Linked DNA regions of Homo sapiens: all the other regions are linked to region 5. Evidence: promoter capture Hi-C in 16 types of primary human blood cells and fetal thymus (Javierre and others, 2016). All regions are on one chromosome and are shown on one strand. The core of a region is centred on a gene start or on the middle of the fragment in contact, and the rest is flanking DNA. Distances in the headings are between cores, read along the strand shown. Region 1 has its middle 2.7 kb from the start of DCK. Region 2 overlaps MOB1B (MOB kinase activator 1B). Region 3 has its middle 94 kb from the start of SLC4A4. Region 4 overlaps MOB1B (MOB kinase activator 1B). Region 5 holds the start of ENAM (enamelin). Region 6 has its middle 52 kb from the start of DCK. Region 7 overlaps MOB1B (MOB kinase activator 1B).

Region 1 (2,700 bases), core at 199-2,698, 360 kb before region 5:
CTACGTTTTGTTCAATTCTTTGTTCAACACGCCAAAAACCCAGACAACTCAGTCAAGACTTCCCATCCAGTAACACTAATAAACCGGATATTACCCAGTCTGGAAGTTATCTGGTCCAAATTGTCTACAGAAACCAAAGGCCTTGCTATTCTTTTTTACATTGCAACTATCATCAGACCTGAAATGCATCTAAATGTGTAGCCAGAAGGGGAAAACGGTGACTCCATCCTCAGAAATAAAGAGCAGAAATTAAAATGTGAATCCTCGGGGATCACATTTTCCAGGATTAAACAGCAAGAATCATTCTATGTAACTGCCCTATATTATTCTGTTATGCAATTATTTTGTATATATTACTTTTACTTATCCCTATAGTGATTAATAGCAAGATCCTAGGAATATAAGAGGCCTGAAGAGTTGTCATCAGGTATAGCAAGGAAGTTGGGAGAAAGGTGCTGCGGAAGCTAATAGGTATCACATTTCACAGCCAAGCTTGGGGGAAAACTCATGAAATGGTAAGAGTACTGGCAGCTACCGAGAGGAGGAAGGCAAGTCTCTTGAGACCTTCAACAGGAAAGCAGAGCTGGTCCTGGATGGATGTCATAAAGAGGCTTGGGGTTAAGGAGTAGAAATCTCCAAGTGTGGTTTCCACAAAAAAGACCCACACAAGAAGTATCTTACAATGATGAAGAGTTTAAGCACTGGAAAATGAAAGATTTCAAACACCAGTTCTACCAGTTTCTGGCTGCAAAAACTTGAATTCATCTGAGCTTAAGAGTATACTTTGAAAAATACAAATGTGGGAGGCCGAGGCAGGTGAATCGCTTGAGCCCAGGAGTTTGAGACTAGCCTGGGCAACATGGCAAAACTCTTGTCTCTACAAAAAATAGAAAAATTAGCCAGGCGCCTGTAGTCCCAACTATTTGGGAGGCTGAGGTGGGAGAATTACCGAAGCCAGGGAGTCAAGGCTGCAGTGAGCCAAGATCATGCCACTGTACTCCAGTGAGATCCTGTCTCAACTAACAACAACAAAGTAAATGGGGGAAGCAAAGAATCTAGCTTTTTTGGCATTAAGTCCAGCATAATTTCCCATTTTCCTACATGACCTGGGGGTAACACAAGGAGAGAACAGAGAAAAGCACTTTTCAAAACATCTTGATTTTTGGTCCACAATCTCTTATCTAAAACCCTGGCAGCCAGATGTTTCAGAATTTAAAACTTTTAGAAAAGATTTTTAGAAAAGAAATTCTAAACTTTGGAACTGGCTGGACGCAGTGGCTCTTGCCTATAATCCCAGCACTTTGGGAGGTACTCTGGAATGCTTGAGCTCAGGAATTCGAGACCAACCAGGGAAACATGGCGAAACTAATAGAAAAAATACAAAAATTAGCTGGTTGTGGTGGCACACACCTGTGGTCCCAGCTACTCAGGAGGCTGAGGTGGGAGGATGGTTTGGGCCTGCAAAGTTTTAGCTTTAGTAAGCTATGATCGCGCCACTGCATGCCAGCCTGAGTGACACAGCAGCAAGACCCCGTCTCAATAATAAAATTTGGAATCGAAACTTTAGAAACGATACAGTGCATATACTGTATATTAATTATTAAGTAAGCACCCCCACTCCCCCTGCAGAGGTGTTAAATCAAATGCACTAATATTTTGCAGTGAAACAAAGAGTGTTAACATGAAGTGGGATAAAGACTATTAACATCTGGTCAGAATAAGTTTGCACTGAATTCAAAAAAAATACCTTTGGGGCCAAGCACGGTGGCTCACGCCTGTAATCCCAACACTGTGGGAGGCCGAGATGGACAGATTACCTGAGTTCAGGAGTTCGAGACCAACCTGGCCAACATGGCGAAACCCTGTCTCTACTAAAGATACAAAAACTAGCCGGGCGTGGTGGTGTGTGCCTGTGGTCCCAGCTACTCGGGAGGCTGAAGCTGGAGAATCGCTTGCACCCGGGAGGCGGAAGTTGCATTAAGCCAAGATCATGCCACTGCACTCCAGCCTGGATGAGAGTGAGACCCCGTCTCAAAAAAACAAACAAAAAAATTTTGGTTTTCTGAGCTTTTCAGGTTTTGAAACTGCAGATAAGAGACAGGATACAGCGCACCCAGCCAGTCATGATCGTGCTGCCACCTAATCCTTTCTTACCAGAAATTTTACTACTCCTTCAATTTGGGAATTTTCTCCTGTGGGAATTCTAGTGTAACTAAAGAATGAGACAGCGTTCTGACTGACAACATACAGGTTTATTAGGAAAACTAAATCAACCCAGAAAATAATAAAAAGCAGAAAAAATAAGAGACCCTGAACATTAAGTAGTGGTTACACAGCCCATGAGTTTGTCTACACAAACTCAACTACTTCTGTAAAATGATATTTATCAACTTAATAAGCTTGGTTATAAATTTCCCCTTGTAATCTTCATTAGTGCCTAGAAAACGGGGTACAGAAGCCATCATAAATGCAAGAGTGGGAGTCAGTGTGCTTCCTGCAAATCTGAAATCTGAAAGCAAAATAACATACTAGAAGAGCATAGGAGCCATCAGATGTATACAGCTTAGCAAAGAAAGCTGTTTTACTACATGCTTGTGAAGTGGACTGAGGTCATCAAGAAAATGTGACACTGTATTCATCATGCTGTAACAGGAGCATGTACAATTTCTTAGTAAAACTTCTACTAAACATGGTTGTTTA
Region 2 (2,700 bases), core at 44-2,543, 340 kb before region 5:
AAGATCGCACCACTGCACTCTAGCCTGGGCAACAGAGCAAGATTCTGTCTCAAAAAAATAAAATAAAAATAAAAAAACAGTATCTGAGAACAAAGTTCTACGAGCCATCATTCAATACCACTTTGCAAGGGGCTTAGCATTTATTAAGTATTAACAAATGCCTCTCCTAGGCACAATCCTGCATCTGCTGGTAAAAATGAAGAACTATGACAACAACTACATCTTCTTAGCACTAATGACTGGGAAATGTCACGATTCTCCCCAAAAAAAAAAAGGGAGAAAGGAAGAGAGGGAGGAAAGACAAGAAGAGAAGGAAGAAGAAAAGAGACGTAGAGAAAGAAGAAAGAAGGAGGGAGAAAGGAAGGGAAAGAAGGAAGAAAGAAGAGAAAGAGAGGGAAGCAGACACGCAGGCAGGAGACCACACAGCTTTAACACTATGTACGCACACATGCATGCATACAGGAGCAGAGACAAACAGCTCTCAAGCCAGAAGAACTGGCTTTCTTAGAAGGCAGTGCTATTTAATTTCTCAAGGCATAACTAACCACAGAATAGAAAAATTAAAGACATCTATTTTCACAAGTGAAGCTTAACCAAAGTGAACACCAGTAATACTGGCAAGAATTAATACTAAAGGGGGACTGATTTCATTTCTAAATGCCCCCGTTCCTCTAATAAATCTTCCCGAAATAACAAGTAACAGAAATTCACACTCTAGCTTTGATGATAAAACTAGGAGACACCTATGTCTTTAAATTACTTTTTTTTTTTTTTTTTTGAGACAGAGTCTCACTCTATCATTCAGGCTGGAGTACACACACTGGCACGATCTCAGCTCACTGCAACCTCACCCCCACCTCCCAGGTTTAAGTGATTCTCCTGCCTGAGTGGCTGGGATTACAGATGCACACCACCACGCCCAGCTAATTTTTCTATTATTAATAGAGACGAGATTCACTATGTTGCCCAGGCTGCTCTCAACCTCCCGATCTCAGGTGATGATCTGCCAGTCTCAGCCTCCCAAAGTGCTGGGATTATAGGCGTGAGCCACCATGCCCAGCCTAAACCACATTATTTTTTAAAGGGACTATCTTGACTAGACTTTTCAAAAAGGCGAGGTGGGGAGTGTGACAGTTCATATAAGTTCAAACAGGGTGAGGAGAGAACAAAAGATGCACCTGCAACTACAAACCCCATACAAAGTCCACAGAAGACGTTTCTCCAAAGTAAACAGTCCCGTGACGGGTAAAAACCACAAACATACTTCTGCAGGAAGAGGTGTAAATGGAGGAAGGGAATTGACAGACGCTAGATTTTGAATAGCTCTGCAGCTATACTCATCTCCATGGGCTAGAAAGAAGTGAAGGTTCAAACACAGCTTTGTGTCTTTCCTAGTGCAGTCTTCCTTTCTCTTTACTGAGAACTGCCAACTTCTTTTACCTCTTCATATGGTATCTCCATATTTTTCCTGAGCTACAATATTATACTTCTGTTACGGGCTCTTTGATCATTTGACTAAATTCTTTGAGTCTACGGCAATGCATAGAGCAATATTCTTATAATGAATGTTGACATATGATGTAAAAAACATGTATGAAAGGCCTTACATTTAGGTACCACTAAATAAATGGTAACTGTCATTGCTATTATTAGTAGAAGTAATAATAAAAGCCAGTTTCCAAAATGTACTGATTCAACCCACATTTTTTGGGTGTTAAAACAAGGTGGCAAGCTCTGTCCTTGCACCAAAAGGGAATTAAAAGAACAAATCCAACAGGTTAAATAAAACATATATGAATAGTGTAAGAAATATAACAAACAAATTTCATTACAAAGGTAAAAAAAGTTAGTCTGATGAAATCAGAAGGCTTTGACAGAGAAATATTTGATAATAGAATTGAAGATCAGTAAGATTTTTTGAAATATTGACAGAAAATGACAGGAGTGAAATGGGAGAGAAGAAAAATGTCCAAGAGAAGAAGAGAATAAGCAAGCTTCCAGAGAAGTACGTAATGGAGGGAACAGCAAGGTATTTCCAGTAATCCAGTTAGGACAGACTAGAGAAGACACATAAGCAAACAGAGGAAAGGCAAGATGGACAGTCACAAACCCCAAGCTAAGGAATCTAGATTAATAGTCACTGGCAAACCTCAGAAAGAGACGATAAGTAGAAAAATCATATGGTCAGAAACTTCGTTTTTCTTTAAGAACCGTAAAATAATGTAAAAATAAGAAACTGATCATTAACTATGTCTTACTTTGGGCCAGCTGACATCACTGGACAACTCTCTTCTGTACAGAAGTCTGTGATAGTTCCATAAAGCATGTTGATCTGATTGAAGAAATCCACAGCTGTAAAGCAAGTATCAGTTGTAAGTAAAACAGAATGGCTAAATTTAAAATGAAATTTTAATTGTACTTGAACAGAATAGGCTTATTGGCGTTCGTTCCCCTACAAAGAACAGGTGAAAACCATACACAGAAGTATCAATACATTGAAATGAGGAGCTTGTGTTCATCAAACGACTCCCTTGAGAGCAAAAAGGCAAGCATAGAGATGAAGAGATTATTTGCAACGCATACAAACAACAGAAATCTTATATCTAGAATAGATAAAGAACTCATATAGATCAATAAGAAAAAGACAACACAGCTGAAAAATGTGAGACAATTTTAAACTGTCACTTCACAAAAGAAATT
Region 3 (2,700 bases), core at 116-2,615, 460 kb before region 5:
AACTGATGTGTATATATATAACAAAAATCAACAGACTCCCCCTGGAAAATATAGAGCTTGGCTCTGAAGCTTCACTGAAGACTGCAGGAGAAGACAGAGAGACCTTTCTTGTCCTGGAAAAATGAGGACTCGTGAACCACACACATACTTTAACACAAAACATCCAGCTTCTGGTAATCCCCCAAAAGTGTGAAATGGTATATTTTTTAAAAAACAAGGAATAGAGAACTTTATTAGCCATACTGCATGTGGCTAATATTTCCTGTTAACATATTGGGATTTGTCAAAGAAAATCCTAGAGCTTCCCCTAACTACATATCCTTACATCTACCAGCTGAGACTCACAAAGCTAATAAACCTCACCAGCAAATTAGCATTACCTATAAAAGTACTGCAGCCTTAAATATTACAACATGGTAGAGCTGAATGTAAATCTCCTTGAAAGTATTTTTCCTGTATCACAATAAGCAGGAGGCCTATTTATAATGTAATGCCAAAAATAGACACACAGTGCTTAGTATTTGGAAAAGGATCTGTACATGCCACTCTACTCTGGAGAAGCTCTTAGAAGTACTTTTCCAATACATTTTCCCTGGAATCTCTCTCTCTCTGATCATCAATATGTGAGCCATAGGTGATTTGAACCAGGCAGGACAAGACACCCTGATGAAACAAAACTTGATATTGTCAAAAGATAAAACTCCCTTGAAGATGACCACTACATTTTATGACTGTATGCCACTCGTGGCTTACCATGCCATATCCTCATATTTTCTTCTAATCAGAAATTCATAAGGGAAATCTGTGTACCAAAATGTTTAATAAGGGACATATTTTAGATTTTTTTCCCACAGAGGACAGGGTTACCAGCCCCTAGCACTTTTTTTTTTAACAGTCTGGCTGATAATCTGGTGCCAACACCAACTGCTGGTTAAATAATCTCATCAGCCAGGGTGAGGCTTTTTGTTCTCCTGCTTTTGTGACTTCATTTTTCGAACATTTAAAGTTGCCAACAATCCCAAATGGTGTCTCATTACTTCTCTCCAGTTTGTTTCTATTTGAAGATAAAAACTATTTTATTTGGAGCAAATTATAATAGGATGCAAAATGACCCACCATTGTAAGACCAACAAATAGGTAGGTCCCTATAATGGTTTGAAAAGAAAAACTTTAATATCAAGACACAAAGGGGGAAAATGCATCTCCACGCTCATTTTTCACCTATTTTACCAACAACAACAATAGCAATCATTTATTGAGTACCCACCAGTATCACAAGAAGAACTCTGGGAGTTTAAATTGCTGAAGCTAAACTTAGGCAGTTTATCAATTCAAAACAAGTCAGGATATTCACTTACAGAACAAAAAGGTTTTTCTATCCCTAACTATTTATGATTTAAATCTTTTTTTCTTAAAGTAAAGACAGAAAGGAGGTAAAAATAGGCCAATGCAGTGGCTCACGCCTGTAATCCCCGCACTTTGAGAAGCCGAGACAGGCAGATCACTTGAGGTCAGGAGTTCAAGACCAGCCTGGCCAACATGGTGAAACCCTGTCTCTACTGAAAATACAAAAATTAGCTGGGAATGGTGGTGCATGCCTGTAGTCCCAGCTACTCGGGAGGCTGAGGCAGGAGAATTGCTTGAACCTGGGAGGTAGAGATTGCAGTGAGCCAAGATGACGCCAGTGCACTCCAGCCTGGTGATAGAGCAAGACTCTGTCTCAAGAAAAAGGAAAAAAAGAAAAGAAAAAACAAAAGAGGTCAAAATACAAGACTGGTTTTTGCCATATATGACTTTATTTTATTTTTATTTTTGAGACAAAGTCTCACTCTGTTACCCAGGCTGGAGTGCAGTGGCGTGATCTCGGTTCACTGCAACCTCCGCCTCCTGAGTTCAAGTGATTCTCCTGCCTCAGCCTCCCGAGTAGCTGGGACTACAGGCGCACGCCACCACGCCCAGCTAATTTTTGTATTTTTAGTAGAGATGGGGTTTCACCATGTTGGCCAGGGTGGTCGTGATCTCTTGACCTTGTGATCTGCCAGCCTCGGCCTCCCAAAGTGCTGGGATTACAGGCGTGAGCCACTGTACCCGGCCCATATATGACTTTCTTACTTACAATAGGTCAAGCATCAGTGCTCAGGTTTATAGCCAGAAGAAGTTACAACACAATTATGGGTATCTGTAAAAAGAAAAATAACAATTACTTGATGTATCTCAAATAATACAAAAACTCTTAGTGATAGTATGATACCTCAAATTACCTAAACCCATGTAAGAATCTCTTCTTCTTGCCCTCCTTTCAGGTTCTATTCTCAGCATTCTGTTTTTAGGTTTTTGCAGTGTTTTTTCTGATGTAACATGACGTGCAAATTCCCAGTAACCCCCAAAATACTTAAAATCAAATATTTCTTCCTAGAAAATGTATAGGAAACTGTCTCGACAAATATCTCCTTATGAACTTCTATAAATTTATCTACTAATTCTTACTAGGGTTTGGAATATGTAAATATCAATATTCATTTTTAAAATATCTGTCAACATGAAAAAGTTTGTATAAGAAAATGTAGGAAAAATAGAATCCTAGTGAAATATAAAAAGAGAGAAATCTATTGAAATCCATCAACCATATGAATTTTACTTCTCTAAGTTAAGAGAAGCTTCTACTTAAAATGAGCTTTAGAATAGAAATTGCAGTCCAGT
Region 4 (2,700 bases), core at 178-2,677, 320 kb before region 5:
GAGTAGCTGGGACTACAGGCACCCACCACCACGCCCAGCTAATTTTTGTATTTTTAGTAGAGACGGGGTTTCACCATGTTGGCCAGGCTGGTCTCGAACTCCTGACCTCAGGAGATCTGCCCATCTCAGCCTCCCAAAGTGCTGGGATTACAGGCGTGAGCCACAGCACTCGGCCTAAAGCCCATACTTTTACCCACTACCCAACATTACTCAATGCTTTACCTTTAGCTTCTACCCAATTATTTCTAATAATTTTCTCCCTTTTTCACCACATTTTAATCAAGTCATTCACGAACAACACAAGGCTAATTTATACCAAGAGAGTTATTAATAGGCACCTTTTTTTTCTTATTTTTAAAACATTCTTTTTTCCTTACCCTTGTCTCCACCCCTTTGTAATTTTATTTATGTATTTTTTTGAAGACAGGGTTCACTCTGTCCCCTAGGCTGGAGTGCAGTGACACAAACACAGCTCACTGCAGCCTCAACTTCCTGAGCTCAAACGATCTTTCTACCTTAGCCTTCCACCTCGGCCTCCCAAGTAGTTGGGACCACAGGTTCACGCCACCATGTCCAGCTAATTATTTTGTTGTTGTATTTTTTTATAGAGAGGAAGTCTCACTTTGTTGCCCTGGCTAGTCTCAAACTCCTGGGCTCAAGTGATCCCCCCATCCCCACCACCCAAAGTGCTGGGAATAGATACATCTTAATCTTCAAACCACCTAATTCCCCTCCTATACCATCTCTAATTTATATGAATACTTAGCACATACTCTGCCAGTAAGAAAAAGTAAAATTCCACCCTACACCAATTTCCCCCAAATGTTGCCATTTGGCTTTCATCCACGCTTTCAGAAAGGCAGACATGCATCTGCAAAAAATGTTAGAAGCTGTCAAAATAGAATGTGTTCTAGAAATAATAAGACTAAAAGCTAAAGGCTAAAAGCTATGAGTATTGAAAAGATAACCTTGTTTCAAGACAGACAGCAGTCTGAACAGACATATCTACTTACATTTCTGCCTATAATCCCTTTTAAATCACTATTATTAGTGGCAGGTGGTATTGCTACTATTGTTACCATTAAGTGAGTAAGAAATCCTTAACTCGGCTGGAAAAAAAGAAAGAACACTATCTGCTATCCGCAGTTCAGAAATCGAGGAATTCTTATAAGATTAAAAAGTTAATGAGACATAGTGACTGAGAAGTCTGAGAAAACCTAGCATAGATATGCCCAGTAGAGGTCTCTATGAAGGTAAGAGTGATTCTGCTGTGCTCCAAACTCAGAATCTAGACTACGGGAGAGGACCCTGAGGGGATCTCCAGAAGATTATAGGCGAACTTGACCCAGGATCTTTGCACAAGTGAATCCCAATACCCTTCTGAGTGGCCTTTTTCTGAGAAGTAGGCAAGCACAGCCTAAGCTGAAGCTCAGAGCATGGTGGAGGGAGGGATTTTAACCACCACCCCAGCAGGCAGGGGAACTTGGCAGTCAAAAGAGAACTTACTGGCATACCTCTATACATTAGGCAGCAGTTCCTACTCCTTCCTGTCACCAGAGGTATGCTCCCATAATCAGTATATTCACCAAGAAGCAAACCAATATCCTCAAACACTCAAGTTGAGCAGACAATCCCAAATCACTAAATATTCCAGGAAAACCAACACCATGAAAGAACTACTCAACAATATATCTAATGCTAACAAAAACCAAGAAGAACATACTAAATATAATCAGTATCTTTAGAAATAACAGAGACACTATTATATTCAAAAAACAGGCAATTATGAAAAGAAACAATTAGGGAAGGATGGAGAAGCTGAAGTTCTCCTTAAGCAAGTGGTGTCAAGTCGAGAGATATTAACCACAGTGAGGGGAACTGAAAAATTAAAGAATTCTGGTAAGATTAAAAAGTTGACTTTTTAATATAATTGACTGTGGAGATGGTTACTAAAAAACTGTATTAAACAGTGCACTCTAAACGGGCGATTTGTAAGGTATGTGACTACGTCTCAATTAAGCATTTTTTAAGGCACAAAGAAAAATATAATTGTCATTATAAAAGTGAACAGTGGACCATACAAATAGAGTCAACTGATACTGACAAAAGAGGAAAGGCAATTCAATGGGGAAAGGATGATCTTTTCAACAAGTGGTAGTTCTCTACTACTTGGGACACTGGGACATCCAGAGGCAAAAACATAAATCTAGACACAGATCTTGCACCTTTCACAAAACTTAACATGAATTAGATGATAGACCTAAAACTACAACACAATACTATAAAACTTCTAGAAGAAAACATAGAAGAAAATCTATGTGACCTTGAATTTGGTGATGAGTTTCTAGATATAAAAAAGCATCTTATGAAAGAAAATACTGATAAATTAGACTTCATTAAAGTTTAAAATTCTTCTCTGTGGCTGGGTACAGTGGTGCACGGCAGTAATCCCAGCATTCTGGGAGGCCAAGGTAGGCAGATCACTTCATCTCAGAAGTTCAAGACCAGCCTGGGCAATATGTTGAAACCCTATCTCTACAAAAAATTATCTGGGTGTGGTGGCACACACCTGCTGCCCCAGCTACTCAGGAGGCTGAGGCAGGAGCCTAGGGGTGTTGAGGCTGCAGTGAGCCAAGATTGTGCCACTGCACTCCAGCCTGGGCAACAGAGTGAGACCCTGCTTCAAAATAAATAAATAAA
Region 5 (2,700 bases), core at 201-2,700:
GAAAAATTGGCAGAATGTAATTAAACAAAGGAAGCAGTAGTATGTAAATACCTTTCCTACTATTTAAAGATTTTCAGAGTTAGAACATCATAGAGAATGAAAATAACAGCTGAATGTTATTTTAGAGTGTTTAGTATAGGTTACAACAATATGTGGAAACTAATAAAGAGAATACTGGTGAAAGCTTTCTTTGCTAAATGTTTCTAAGATTATGGCCCAAGATTTAAGGGTGCTTTTGGATGGTTAATTTCTGCCTTGCTTAATCATTCATCTCATCTCTCTAGTAGCTGTCACAGTGATTCTTGATAATATATGTAGCCTTTATATTTGCAAATAGAAAACTCATTTTCTCTTTTGTAAAATTAATATATTATGTTGGATGACTGAGATCCCTTCCATCTCTAAAAGTTAGTGATTAAAGTCTATAATTAGTTATTTTTTGAGTTGAAAGTAACACTCATAATGATTGCCACAAAGTACAATGACTGTGTAAGTTCTTCTTCCATTCCATCTGTGAAAGCAGATGCTCTTTGAGTCTTCTGATACATTTCAGTAGTGTTTGGCCCTCTCAAGTGTATTTCTGACAGTATCTAGTTTGAGAACCTGTATGTATTGGCAAAAATAAATGAAAGTACTCACCAAGTTATCTAGTTTAGGAAAAGAGGTTCCAAGCCTGCACCGAAGCACCAACATTTTTTTCAGCAAAATTTTTATAAGCCTTTAAGAAAAATACAGCTTTAACCTGAGAAGAAACTAAAATATAGAAATGGAACAAATAAATGAAATGAATAGCAAAGCTTCAGTTCTAAGGCAGCACATGTCATGTTAATTATTTTATCCAGTCATACCTGTATTAGGGGGCCACAAAATCAAGTTTAATCTTCTGTTGCTTTAAAAGTAGGATGAAAGCTAAATCAGAGAGGAAATGACACAGGCACTGTATTTTGAGATACTTCTAGGGCGATGTTGACAAAACTAGACTTCACTATGGGGAAATGTACAAAGTCACAGTAGTAAAGGAGGTCTAAGAAGGCTGGAAAAAACTTACAAGAAAAACAAATACACCAAATAAACCAAGGAGTTTAAAGTTTTATCAGAAGATTAGTCTGCATACAATGATTATACAACCAACAAGAAGGAATGCAATAAGGAGAATTAACCAACATCTATGAATTAAATTCATTATTTGACACTATATGTAATTTATGTTGATAATCTCTAATACTCACCCAATGCCAATTAGAAGCTGTAATATATAAAAAATAATTTTTACTTGAACTTTGTTAGCTTGCCTTTGAAATATATTCTTAATGGTCTATAGTGGAAATAACTACAAATTGCTGAAGCCAGGGAGATCTCAAGAAGCAAGATACATTTATTTCTTAATAATAAAACAAAAATTCTTCACTCAGATATCATGTTCAGTATCAAAAAGGCTCAAAATAAAAAGATTCCTCCTTGTCAGAAAGCTTGGCACAGCAAGGTTCCATTTAAGCACTGTTGTAGACCTGCATAACCAATCAGCTTTGAGGAAAATGGTTTTGTCATCACAAGAGTTTAAGGTAAAAAACACACATCGAATTTAAAATTTAGAATGTGTTATTATAGGAGCTGTCAAGTCAAGTCTCTTATTACGTATAATAACAGTCCAGGAAAATGAGCTTACAGCAGTAAGATTTAGAAGATGCTTCCCTTGGTGAATTTGGCTTTCAAAGTATAGAAACTATGTTTATAACAAAGATATTTCAGGAACAAAGGCGAATATTAACTGTATGCTATTGTCATAAGTCAGTTGCCTTCATCAAAAGGCAGGCTAATATATATATTTACTTAATATACATTTTATATGTAATTAAAATGAACTGGAATGTTATATCCATGGGTGAAAACTCAGTGACTTGATTTACTTTGTATTACATAAGGCTAGCAGGACATAGTGTTCTTTTTGAAGTCAAATATAATCCAGTCACTGGGGATTCAGAATTTTAGATGAGTTGGGTACAATGGCAAATGAACTCTCAGCTATTATGATAATACAACTTAATGAAAATAGGACCTGAGTAATTTAATGAAACAGTTATGTTATGGATTTTTTTCCTGAAATCTGACTTTCCATAATAAAGATTTCACTTTCAAATAGATAGGCCAATTGCACTTTTAATTGACAAGAGCAAGCTTTGCTATCTTTGCTTAACTTGGATTCTCCTGTTCTCTTATGGCTTCACAAGAGAAAACATTTGTTGTGGCAATGTTTGCTTATTTTAATGTTGGGATTTAAAAACCAAGAATGAATGAACTTGATGGCAAAACCTGTTCCTACTTGGTATGATTGTGTATATAAGTTAATCCAGTGGTTGCCCATGGTGCTGTTCTTCCAAGGACAGAGAAGTGCTGTGTCATTCCTTTTGGGCCAAATAGCATTGTATTTCTCAGTGCCTCTCTGCTCCACATATTTCGTGCCACAAATAATAAAAATGTGCTAGAATATTTGACTTTAAATGAAGCTAGGACTATCTTTTAACTCTATGTGTATCCAAGATGTGCAAAGTTAAATCTGCTTCAAGTACCTGCTTGCCTTTGTCTGATTTTGTAGAAACTGAGTAGTATTTATCATATTGTGTGCACATTGAGATGAATTTGCAAATGGTAGGACACTTACGGGACAGTGACCTACAGTGTGTTCTTGGAAGTGAAATGGGA
Region 6 (2,700 bases), core at 188-2,687, 420 kb before region 5:
TCTGCATTTCCTGAATTTGAATGTTGGCTTGTCTTGCTAGGTTGGGGAAGTTCTCCTATATGATATCCTGAAGTATGTTTTACAACTTGGTTCCATTCTCCCCATCTCTTTCAAGTACCCCGGTTAGTTGTAGGCTTGGTATCTTTACATAATGCTATATTTCTTGGGGGTTTTGTTCATTCCTTTTCATTCTTTTTTCTCTATTCTTCTCTGTCTTATTTCAGAAAGAGTCTTCAAGCTCTAAGATTCTTTCCTCCACTTGGTCTATTCTGCTATTGATACTTGTGATTGCATTGTGAAGGTCTTGTGTTGTGTTTTTCGACTCCATTGGGTTGGCTATGTTCCTCTCTAAACTGGCTATTCTGGCTATCAACTCCTGTATTGTTTTATCATGATTCCTAGCTTCTTTGCTTTGGGTTACAGCATGCTCCTTTAGCCCAGTGAAATTCATGATTACACACCTCTGAAGCCTACTTCTGTCAATTCAACCATCTCAGTCTCAGCCTAGTTCTGTGCCCTTGCTGGAGAGGTGTTGTGGTCATTTGGAGAAGAAAAGGCACTCTGGCCTTTTGAGTTTTCAGCATGTTTGCATTGATTCTTTCTCATCTTTGTGGGCTTATCTACCTTCAATCTTTGAGGTTTCTGACATGGTGAATGAGGTTTTTGTGGGGTCTTTGTCATTGTTGTTGTTTTGTGTCTGTTTGTTTGTTTTAACAGTCAGCCCACTCTACCATAGGGCTGCTGTGGTTTGCTGGGGGTCCGCTCCATACCCCAGTTGCCTCATTCTCCCGTACCTGGAGGTATCACCAGCAAAGGCCATGAAACAGCAAAGATGACAGCCAGATCCTTTCTCTGGAAGCTCTATCCCAGGGGGTACTGACCTGTTGCCAGCCTGCACGCACCTATAGGAGATGTCTGGAAACCCCCATTGGGAGGTCTCACCCAGTCAGAAGGAATGGGATCAGGGACCTGCCCAAAGAAGCAGTCTGGCTGTTTTTTGGTAGAGCAGTTGTGCTGCATTAAGGGGCACACTTCCTCATCCAAACTGCCTGCAATCTCCAAAGCTGACAGGCTGGAGTGGCTGAGTCCACCAAACCGCAGAGATGACATCCACCCCTCCTCACAGGAGCTCCATCCCAGGGAGAGATCAGAGCTCTGTCCATAGAACCCTAGCTGGAGTCGTTGAAGCTCCTGCAGGGAGATCCTGCTCAGTGAGGAGAAATGGATCCAGGTGCTGCTTAAAGCAGTCTGGCCACAATCTGGCAAGGCAGCTGTGCTGCACTATGGGGGACCCTTCCTCCCAGACTGTCTGTATTCTCCACAGTCAGCAGGCTAGAGAAGCTAAGTTGATGGAACCGCAGAGATGGCAGCCACCCATTCCCCTGGGAACTTGGACCCATCTCAGGTGGATTTCAACCCGCTGCCATTGGCTGGCTGGGATTCCAAGCCAGTGAGTCTTAATTTGTGAGGTGCTGTGGAAGTGGGGCCCATAGAACGACATTGCTTGGCTCCCTGGATTCAGTCTCCCCTTCCCAGGGATATGTACGGATGAATTTCCTGCCTTGCTGGAGATCCCAGGGCCGGAATATGTAAAACTCCTGGGTCTCTATATGTAAGCAGGTGCTCTGCCAAGACTTCACACAGCTCTGTGTATCAGACCCAAGGCCCTGGTGGCGTGGGCTCATGAGGGGATCTCCTTATCCACAGTGATATTATTTGCTTCTGTGTCCCTGCCCAAATCTCATCTTGAATTATAATCCCCCCATATCGAGGAAGGGACCTGTAATCCCCACATGTTGAAGGAAAGTGGTTGGATCATGAGGGTGGTAGAATCACAAGATCGTGCTGTTCTTGTGACAGTGAGTGAATTCTCATGAACTCTAATGGTTTTGAAAGTGGTAGTTTTTACCTGTGCTCTCACTTCTCCCTCCTGTCACCTGTGGAAAAGGTGCCTGTTTCCCTTTCCACCATGGTGGTAAGCTGTCTGAGGGCTCCCTAGCCAGGAGGAACTGTGAGTCAATTAAATCTCCTTCCTTTATAAATTCCCCAGTCTCGGGGGTATTTCTTTCTTCTTTTTTTTTTTCTTTTTGAGACAGAGTCTCACTCTGTTGCCAGGCTGGAGTAGTGGCCTCATCTTGGCTTACTGCAACCTCCCCTTCCCGGGTTCAAGCGATTCTCCTGCCTCAGCCTCCCAAGTAGCTGGGACTACAGGCGTGTGGCACCACACCCAGCTAATTTTTGTATTTTTAGTAGAGACGGGGTTTCACCATGTTAGCTAGGATGGTCTCGATCTCTTGACCTCGTGATCTGCCCGCCTTGGCCTCCCAAAGTGCTGGGATTACAGGTGTGAGCCGCCAACGGACTAATGCATGCAGGCTGCAAAGATTCGTGGGAGAAGTGTGGTTTCCTAAGAGTAGTCGCACAATAACTCACTGCTTCCCTTGGCTGGGGGTGGGGATTCCTTTGGCTTTGTGCCACTCCCAGGTGGGCCATCACCTTCCCCACCCCCCACTTTTCTTCCTTCTCTGTATTGGGTTGTCTAGCAGTCCCAATGCAAGAACCTGAATATTTCAGTTGAAGGTGCTGAATTCACTCACCCTTCTTCATTCCTCTCCATGAGTGCTGCAGACCACAGCTGCTTCTAATTGGCCATCTTAGATCAATCCCCATCATGTAGTAATTCTATTTTTAGTATTCTGA
Region 7 (2,700 bases), core at 80-2,579, 300 kb before region 5:
TTTATTTGGCATTAATTTTAAAAGTCCAAGAAGCTTTCATGACTCTTTTTCTTAATGATGCAATGATAGTGGGAATGCAGGGAAATGAGCACTCTCATTCCCTGGTAGAGGGAACACAATTTACAGGGCACATTGGAAAATAGGAAACTTGTGCCTGGTATATGACAATCCTGTAAAGAAGGTCTCTACAAAACTATGTGATAAAGATACAATAAATAAGGCTGAGTGCAGGGGCTCACGCCAGTAATATCGGCATTTTGGGAGGCCAAGGTGGGAGGATCACTTGAACCTAGGAGTTCAAGACAAGCCTAGGTAACATAGCAAGACCCCGTGTCTATTAAAAAAAAGTTTTTTTATTATAAAAATCCAATAAATAGGTATTCTAAACTCTTCTGTGCACAGTAGCCACCTTTTAATATTTTCCCTAAAATCTTTACAATGGAAAAACATACAACAGACTGAGGAGAATCACTCATACTCTCACCACCCGTGATGAAATTCTTGAAAATGTCAGGCCACGTGTGGTGGCTCATACCTGTAATTCCAGCACTTTGGGAGGCTGAGGCGGTGGATCACGAGGTCAAGAGTTCGAGACCAGCCTGAACAACATGGTGAAACTCCATCTCTACTAAAAATACAAAAAATTAGCCGGGCATGGTGGCACGCGCCTGTAATCCCAGCTACTCAAGAGGCTGAAGCAGGAGAATCGCTTGAACCCGGGAGGCAGAGGGTGCAGTGGGCCGAGATCACACTACTGCATTCCAGCCTAGGTGACACAGCAAGACTCCATCTCAAAAAAAAAAAAAACAAAATTCTTGAAAATGTCATTGATTAGTCAGGAAAAAAAATTGTTACTAAGAGGCACTATGCTAGGTGGTAGAGATTTAAAACAAACATTTTTTGAAAATGCCCCATCTTCAAAGAGATCATACACATGACAGTGGGTGGAGTACAATGTCTTTTTGGAAAGGACTATGATAAGGACTATAAAGGGCACTGAAATGGTATCTAACAAACTGGGAAGGGGGCACAGGCCAGGGAAAAAGTTGGCTCCTGAGCTAAAGAAATGGGGGTGGGGAGGAGAAGAATAACAGCCAGAATAACAGGAACGGCATTTACAAAGGCAGAAAGATGGAGCAAAGCAGGTTGAGAGAAATGCAAATAAAATCACTGAACACTGTGGGGGAGGGATGTTAGAGCAGGAAGGCACGGATGAGGCTGGAGTGGTAAGCAAACATCTCAGGGAGGCCTTCTATGCCTTGGAGTTTTGCAGACCACTTCCAGCCCATTCCAATATCTACCTGAAATGCCCAAGTGAACTACAGGAAGCGAGTGCACCGAAGGATTCCTACCACTTCCCCTCCATGTTAAAAACCAAGATGCTAAAGTGGAACAGCAGTGGCAGCAATGCCAAGAACAAGCAGGGGAGGCCCCCGCATCCACACAATAAAAACAGCATCTGACTAAAAACCGGAAGCTCAATTCGGCAAAATTCTTGCTGTTTTGAATAGGTGAATGCACTACACATATTTATAACTGTGGTATTGACGGCAATTTTTTTTTTTTTGAGACAGATTCTCACTCTGTTGCCCAGGCTGGGGTACAGTGGCATGATCTCAGCTCACTGCAACCTCCGCCTCCCAGGTTCAAGCGATTCTCCTGCCTCAGCCTCCCAAGTAGCTGGGATTACAGGCGAGTGCCACCATGCCTGGCTAATTATTGTATTTTTAGTAGAGACGGGGGTTTCATCATGTTGGCCAGGCTGGTCTCGAACTCCTGATCTCAGATGATCTGCCCACCTTAGCCTCCCAAAGTGCTGGGATTACAGGCATGAGCCACTGCGCCTGGCTGACAGCAATTTTTTTCTTTATATTCCTAATTTTTGATGAACACAGACTGCAATTATTTCACACATACACCCAAGAAAGTTTGTATACTCAATGCAATATCTTGCAGTGCAAGGGTCTTTAACCATCATTAGCCAGTGGACTTGGAACTGAGAGTTTAAAACAACCATTAAGGAGCACATCTATGTAACACGCTGGTCTCCAGTGCTAAGATTCTTGAGGACAGAGACCGCATCTTATTTCTTTTTTTTTTTTTCTTTTTTGAGACGGAGTCTTGCTCTGTTGCCCAGGCCGGAGTGCAGTGTCACAATCTCGGCTCACTGTAAGCTCCACCTCCTGAGTTTGCGCCATTCTCCTGCCTCAGCCTCCCAAGTAGATGGGACTACAGGCGCCCACCACCACGCCCGGCTAATTTTTTTGTATTTTTAGTAGAGACGGGGTTTCACCGTGTTAGCCAGGATGGTCTCGATCTCCTGACCTCATGATCCACCTCCCAAAATGCTGGGATTACAGGCGTGAGCCACTGCGCCCGGCACATCTTGTTTATTTCTAAACCCCTTCCTTTCTCCTCCCACCACCAGCAAGCACCTAACACTTCGCTTTTACACACAGGAGGTGTTCAATAAATGTTCATTTTATTATGCAATAATGCCATACATTTGTAAGACAGCTAAACAAAAAACTGGAATGCACAAACAGTTTATACACTGGGCTTGGGAATTTCATGAGTGGAGATAATGACAGTGTTTATACAGGACTCTGGTTTATGAAAAGCTTTCATATACATTCTGTCATTCAAGTCTCACATTAACCCAATGGAAGAAGCATTCGTTACCCTCCAGTAGGCAGAGGA

Evidence for each region. Contacts are between HindIII fragments. The CHiCAGO score rates a contact against its expected background, and 5 or more counts as called.
Region 1: a fragment that was not itself captured here is called in contact with the fragment with the promoter of ENAM in region 5 in 1 of 17 cell types (fetal thymus); the score reaches 5.9 in fetal thymus.
Region 2: a fragment that was not itself captured here is called in contact with the fragment with the promoter of ENAM in region 5 in 3 of 17 cell types (total CD8 T cells, fetal thymus and total CD4 T cells); the score reaches 5.4 in total CD8 T cells.
Region 3: a contact is called between a fragment that was not itself captured here and the fragment with the promoter of ENAM in region 5, in 2 of 17 cell types (M0 macrophages and total B cells). The highest score is 5.4, in M0 macrophages.
Region 4: a fragment that was not itself captured here is called in contact with the fragment with the promoter of ENAM in region 5 in 1 of 17 cell types (fetal thymus); the score reaches 6.4 in fetal thymus.
Region 6: a fragment that was not itself captured here is called in contact with the fragment with the promoter of ENAM in region 5 in 1 of 17 cell types (naive B cells); the score reaches 6.2 in naive B cells.
Region 7: a fragment that was not itself captured here is called in contact with the fragment with the promoter of ENAM in region 5 in 1 of 17 cell types (monocytes); the score reaches 5.2 in monocytes.

The regions. Positions count from the first base shown.
Region 1 is chr4:70,989,604-70,992,303 of GRCh38, reverse strand. No RefSeq gene overlaps it. Among named protein-coding and RNA genes, the nearest start is that of DCK, 2.7 kb to the left of the region's middle. The HindIII fragment of the contact is 1,907 bases long and covers 495-2,401 here.
Region 2 is chr4:70,969,583-70,972,282 of GRCh38, reverse strand. It overlaps MOB1B (MOB kinase activator 1B), which reads right to left. Exons shown (of 6, transcript NM_173468.4): 3 at 2,259-2,352. Among named protein-coding and RNA genes, the nearest start is that of DCK, 23 kb to the left of the region's middle. The HindIII fragment of the contact is 1,406 bases long and covers 591-1,996 here.
Region 3 is chr4:71,092,209-71,094,908 of GRCh38, reverse strand. It overlaps a transcript of SLC4A4 not described here. Among named protein-coding and RNA genes, the nearest start is that of SLC4A4, 94 kb to the left of the region's middle. The HindIII fragment of the contact is 2,588 bases long and covers 72-2,659 here.
Region 4 is chr4:70,947,629-70,950,328 of GRCh38, reverse strand. The region is part of intron 1 of MOB1B (MOB kinase activator 1B); the gene reads right to left. Among named protein-coding and RNA genes, the nearest start is that of DCK, 45 kb to the left of the region's middle. The HindIII fragment of the contact is 3,491 bases long and covers 1-2,700 here.
Region 5 is chr4:70,627,494-70,630,193 of GRCh38, reverse strand. It overlaps ENAM (enamelin), which reads right to left and starts at 1,450. Exons shown (of 9, transcript NM_031889.3): 1 at 1,230-1,450; 2 at 640-753. The coding sequence starts at 693. The HindIII fragment of the contact is 672 bases long and covers 800-1,471 here.
Region 6 is chr4:71,044,033-71,046,732 of GRCh38, reverse strand. No RefSeq gene overlaps it. Among named protein-coding and RNA genes, the nearest start is that of DCK, 52 kb to the right of the region's middle. The HindIII fragment of the contact is 3,381 bases long and covers 1-2,700 here.
Region 7 is chr4:70,926,407-70,929,106 of GRCh38, reverse strand. All of the region lies in intron 1 of MOB1B (MOB kinase activator 1B), which reads right to left. Among named protein-coding and RNA genes, the nearest start is that of MOB1B, 25 kb to the right of the region's middle. The HindIII fragment of the contact is 2,588 bases long and covers 36-2,623 here.